Linked DNA regions of Homo sapiens: region 2 is linked to region 1. The links are contacts of gene promoters, found by promoter capture Hi-C in blood cells and fetal thymus (Javierre and others, 2016). All regions are on one chromosome and are shown on one strand. The core of a region is centred on a gene start or on the middle of the fragment in contact, and the rest is flanking DNA. Distances in the headings are between cores, read along the strand shown. Region 1 holds the start of LINC03042 (long intergenic non-protein coding RNA 3042). Region 2 has its middle 100 kb from the start of LINC03042.

The links. Contacts are between HindIII fragments. The CHiCAGO score rates a contact against its expected background, and 5 or more counts as called.
Region 2: a fragment that was not itself captured here is called in contact with the fragment with the promoter of LINC03042 in region 1 in 1 of 17 cell types (M1 macrophages); the score reaches 5.3 in M1 macrophages.

What each region holds. Positions count from the first base shown.
Region 1 is chr8:38,527,299-38,530,036 of GRCh38, reverse strand. LINC03042 (long intergenic non-protein coding RNA 3042) reads left to right here and starts at 1,375. Exons shown (of 3, transcript NR_167676.1): 1 at 1,375-1,714. RefSeq lists enhancers at 1-623, 697-1,664, 1,721-1,770, 1,532-1,826, 1,209-2,408 and 1 more. The HindIII fragment of the contact is 18,415 bases long and covers 1-2,738 here.
Region 2 is chr8:38,628,984-38,631,721 of GRCh38, reverse strand. No RefSeq gene overlaps it. Among named protein-coding and RNA genes, the nearest start is that of LINC03042, 100 kb to the right of the region's middle. The HindIII fragment of the contact is 2,809 bases long and covers 1-2,735 here.

The DNA of each region.
Region 1 (2,738 bases), core at 126-2,625:
GTCTCGAACTCCTGACCTCAGGTGATCCACCATCCTCAGCCTCCCAAAGTGCTGAGATTACAGGCGTGAGCCACTGCACCTGGCGCCTTTTCCAGATTTGAAGTTGCAGGGAGAGCTGAGGATATTCACAGGGCAAGGACTTGAGGCAGAGAGACGAAGACTCGGGTCTGCCAAAGCAAGGTCATTCCCTCTGGATTCTAGTTCTTCAGATGGATAGAATGAGGTCAAAGATAAAGCTCTCACCCAAGCAGGAGGAAAAAAACGCTCTCAAGGATTGCCAGACTCTAAAAGTTTCAGAGTTGAAAAGGGCATTTCAAGCTATAAGCAGCCAGCCAAGAGCTAGGCACAGGGTGTCTCAGTTCTTGGCATTGCTGGGCCAGCATCTATACTTAGGGAAAATCCACATGGAAGGACCCCTTCTCCTCTCTCCAGGAAAACACTCAGCTTAATGACAGCTGGGTCCAGAGCAGGGGCCTAGCAAGTCCTTGTCTGGGCCTCTGGTGCCGGAGTCAAAGGAGGTCCTGATCCAGCCTTGGGATTCCAGCAAGGACTTTACCCCATATTCAGGAGGGGAATCTACAGGTCTCCCTCAAAGACCCTCAGGACATTCTGTGGGCAGCCCCTCCACCATCTCCTCGCTGCTGTTCAAATTCTCACTTTTATTTGTGTGCCACTTTTAATTTGTCAAAGCACTGTCACATCTACTAGCTCACCTGATCTATGCCACCACATCAGAGGATACAGAAAGGTGGTATTAGGACATCTGACAGCCAAGGAAGCAGAGACTCCAGTGGTTAATGTCTAGCCCAGGACCACAGCTACTAGCAGAGGCTACACCTATACCCCTGACTTCACATCACACTCTGCCACACTCCCTCTCCTGTGTGAGGGCTCCCCCAGGAAAAGAGGAAAGACAGGAGCTATTCTAGGCAAAGTAACCTTAAATCTGAAAGCAGAAGATGAATTGCAAGGAAGTGCAGCTCCAGGACGTGTTCCCCTATCTTCCCATCAGAACTCAGCCAGCAGCCATGGACACAGGCCTCTCTTTCCTCTGCACTGCTTCCCCACCCTGGTTCCCGCTCTGGGGTAGGTCCCTCCCAGACCATTATGGCTGGGACGTGCAGCATCTTTTTTCTCTGCTTCTCCAGTAACAGCTGGTTCTGCTCAACTCCCAAAGATGATTTTCAAGAACCCCAACACTACTATCTGCCTGGGCTGCCAGAAAGAGAAAGGGCACCCTCAGAGACACTGAAGACCACCCTCCAGAAGCCGCCAGCACTTTCTATCATGTGACTAGCTCTGGGTGCTCCTTATCTAGCGAAAGGGGCTGGCTCAAATGGCACAGATATTGAAGATCTTCCTGAAGAAGACAGGAAGAGATGCTCAGGTCAGGGAGGGAATGAGACCCCTGGGGAAGGGACTCCTCCCAGCTGAGGAGTTGATTAGAAGCAATCTTGGAGTTGGCAGGAGCCTTAGAGACTGCCTGAGCCAGTCCGGGAAGCTGGCTGAGGAGCTTGGGAGCAAGAGACTAAAACCAGCCAAGTTTGGGACAGAAGGGAAGGAAAGGGTTGAGCAGCGAACAGAGAGACAAAGAACAGGCAGTTCCAAAGAGCCAAGAATGCAAATCATTTGCAGACGCCGCTGGCGAGAGCCTCCACCAAGGCTGCTGTGGGGGTGCCTGATGCCACGAGCACAGCCACTTCTACACGTCACGGTGAGCGTGAGCCCATGCATGTGAGTGTCCCCGCTGAGTCATTCCATGTGTGTAATGATTGTGTCAGTTGTGAGTCACCAATTGTGTGTCAGTCAGGGCGGGGTGTGTGTGTGCTCAGTGCACAAGCACGTGAGGGCTGCCAGTGCCCAGAGTGACAGTGGAATGTGAATGAGAGCCAGAGAACCCGAGGAGCTCAGAGCACTCCCAGGGGGAAGCTGTGTTTAAAGGGCACCACGCTTCATTCACACCGTACATCACACACCACATTTCTGAACACGTTCCAGAGAAAGCCATCTGTGCCCGCTTCCTGCTGAAACCCCCTATGGAGCAGCAGTGCTGAATTCTTCAGGCTCACGGGGTTGTTATCAGAGTCAGAGATGGCCACAATCTTAGAATCCTGCATTTCAAGCCCTTCGTTTTGCAGAGGGAGGAACTGTGGCAGAGAAAGCTGACACAATGGTCCCAGAGTCACAGAGCTAGCTGGTAGAAAAGCCAGGTGTGGACCCAGGTGTCTGTCCAGACTTCCCTGCCCAGGACTCGGTATGTCAGCACAAAGTGGGTCCTTTTTCCTTTTTTCAGCAGGGATGTGATGACATCACTTCTTTTAACTAAAATGCACCCAGATCTTCCCATGAAATGAAACCCTGATGTCACGTCCTAAAGGCTGGATTTGATGAATAGCCCAAAAGGCAAAGTTGGGGCATCTCTGGCCAGACGGTTCTAGACTGAGAGTCATTTGACCTATTTTCCAAGAGCCTTGCCCCACCCAGGTCAGGAGGAGTCCACAGGGAGACCCATTCTTAGGTCTCTAGGTCCAAGATTGGCCAGGCACTTTGGCAGCCTTGATGCTGTGTGATTCAGAAGCTGCTTATGAGATGTTTGCGGATGTCTCACACAGGACTCCTGACTCGTCATCCTGCCACCTTCCTGGTGGCCATTTCACAGCTCAATTTCTCCTGCCCCACAACAATGAAAAAATAAATGAAAGTAGGGGATTTATTTTAGCAGTTTTCAAATTGAGTAT
Region 2 (2,738 bases), core at 82-2,581, 100 kb before region 1:
ATGATGATGACCATGATGATGAGGTCCCACTCATTCACTTGGGTAGCTTTCCATTTAGGATGGAGATGAAACTGCAATTCAAGGGAGAAAATAAAATCAAGAGGGCATGGATGAAGAACTCTGGGCAGTGGGGGTAAGGGAGAAACTTCTTCTCCGTGGGGTGATGAGGGAAGACTTTGAGGGGAAGATAGAACTTAGCAGGGCTTTTGAGGTCAGGAGTTCAGTGTGCCACAGTGAGAGAAGGATGTTTCTAGGGGAGGAAGCACCATGAGCAAAAATACAGAGTAGGGGGAGAATCTGGCTACGCAGTTGGGGATTACTGGAACCTTTGGGATTTTGAGGTTGGAGTGTACTCTCTTGCGTGTGTGCACTAGATCACGTCCCCTCTTGCCTATTCAAGGACATCCCTCCAGCAATTTTCCTCTTTCTCTCCTGCAGCATTCCTGTTTCTCCCCTCCTGTATCATTCCTGTCAACGTCCAAATATGCTATTATTTTACCTATCTCAAAACAAAACCAAAAGCCTCCTTGACTCCACGCCTCTGCTCACCTTTAGAACAAAGCTCCTAGGAAGTTAGCTACACTCACTGTCTCCAATTTTCCTTCTCCTAACCTCTCACAGCCCACCCTTTCAGGCTGCCACACTTACCATTCTGCTGAGATTATACAGCCTGAGTATCTCTTATCCCAAATGCTTGGGACCAGAAGTGTTTCGAATTTTGGATTTTTTTTCTGATTTTTGAATATTTGCAATTTACTTACCGGTTGAGCAGGCCAAATCTGAAAATGCAAATTTCAAAATTCTCCCATGAGCATTTTTTTTTGAGCATCATGTGGGCACTCCAAAAATTGTTGATCTTGGAGAACTTTGAATTTCAGATTTTCAGATTTGAGATGCTCAGCTTGTACTTCTCAAGGTCACCAATGACCTCCACATTGTTCAAGCCAATGTTTACCTTTCTGGACCCCTCGAGAGCATTTGTCGTAGTTGATCAACACTGTCACCTTGAAATGCTTTCTTCACTTGGTTTCCAGATAGCATACTGTCCCAGTTTTCCCCCTACCTCATGAGATGCTCCCTATGATCAGTCTTTTCTGGTTCCTCCCCATCTCCCTGACCTCTTCCCACTTGAGTACCCCAGGGCTCTGGCTTGGATTTCTTCTTCTTTTTTTTTTTTTTTTGAGATGGAGTCTCGCTCTGTTGCCCAGGCTGGAGTGCAGTGGTGCGATCTTGGCTCACTGCAAGCTCCACCTCCCGGGTTCACGCCATTCTCCTGCCTCAGCCTCCCGAGTAGCTGGGACTACAGGCACCTGCTACCACACCCGGCTAATTTTTTGTATTTTTAGTGGAGACAGGGTTTCACTGTGTTAGCCAGGATGGTCTTGATCTCCTGACCTCGTGATCCGCCTGCCTCGGCCTCCCAAAGTGCTGGGATTACAGGCCTAAGCCACTACTCCCAGCCTTCATTTTATTTTAAAGCCAGTGTTTGCTTACTTTTTCTTTTGTCTTAATTTTTTTTTTTTTGAGATGGATTCTCACTCTGTCACCTAGACAGGAGTGCAGTGCCGTGATCTCACAACACTGCAATCTCCACCTCCCGGGTTCAAGTGATTTTCCTGCTCGGCCTCTCGAGTAGCTGGGATTACAGGTGCCCGCCACCATGTCCAGCTAATTTTTGTAGTTTTAGTAGAGACAAGGTTTCTCCATGTTGGCCAGGCTGATCTGAAAGCCCTGACCTCAAGTGATCTGCCCGCCTCGGCCCCCAAGGTGCTGGAATTATAGGCATGAGCCACCACGCCCGGCCAATTTTTTTAAATATGGAAAAAATGTATACAACATAAAATTTACCAGCTTGATCATTTTTAAGAGTACAGATCAGTAGTATCAAGTACATTGGCATTGTTGTGAAACAGATGTCCAAAACTCTTTTAATCTTGCAAAGCTCAAACCCTTTACCCAATAAACAAGCCCCCTCCATTCCTCCTTTGCCCAAACCCCTGGCAACCACCATTCTACTTCCTATTTCTATAAATATAACTACACTAGGGACCTCATATAAGTGGGCTCATACAGAATGTGTGTTTTTGTGACTGGCATATTTCACTTAGCATATAAGCATGTCAGTTTTTCCCCTAAACCTGATCTTCCCCCAGGCTTCTCTATCTCATTTGATGATGACTCCATCCTTCTACCTGCTCCATTGAAACACCTGGAGTCATTCTTGACTCCTTTCTGTTACACCTCACATCCAATCCAGCAGGAAATCCCACTGACTCTACTTCAAAATATGTTCAGATTTGGGCCACTTCCATCCCTCGACTATTATGCTCATGGTCCAACCCATCATCTTTTCTCACCTGGCTTATGGCAATAGGTTTTTAAGTTGGATGACCTATCTCCCTTCTCTCCTTTAAGCCCTCCAAGGGCTTCCCACCTCCAACAGGGAAATGTCAAAGGGCTTTAATAATCAACAGATCCTACGTGATCTGGCTCCCATTTGCTCTGTGAGCTCATCTCTTACTAGTCTCCCCTTGTGTCGGTGTTATCTTTGACTGCATAGCAAATTACCCCAACACTTGATGGCTTAAAACAACATTTATTATCTCACCATTTCCAGGTAGGAGGTGGGGTGTGGTTTAGCTAGGTCCTCCAACTCAGTCTCTCACAAGGCTGCAGTCAAAGTGTCTGCTGGAACTGTGGTCCTCTCAACTGAAGGTTGAATCTACTTCCAAGCTTCC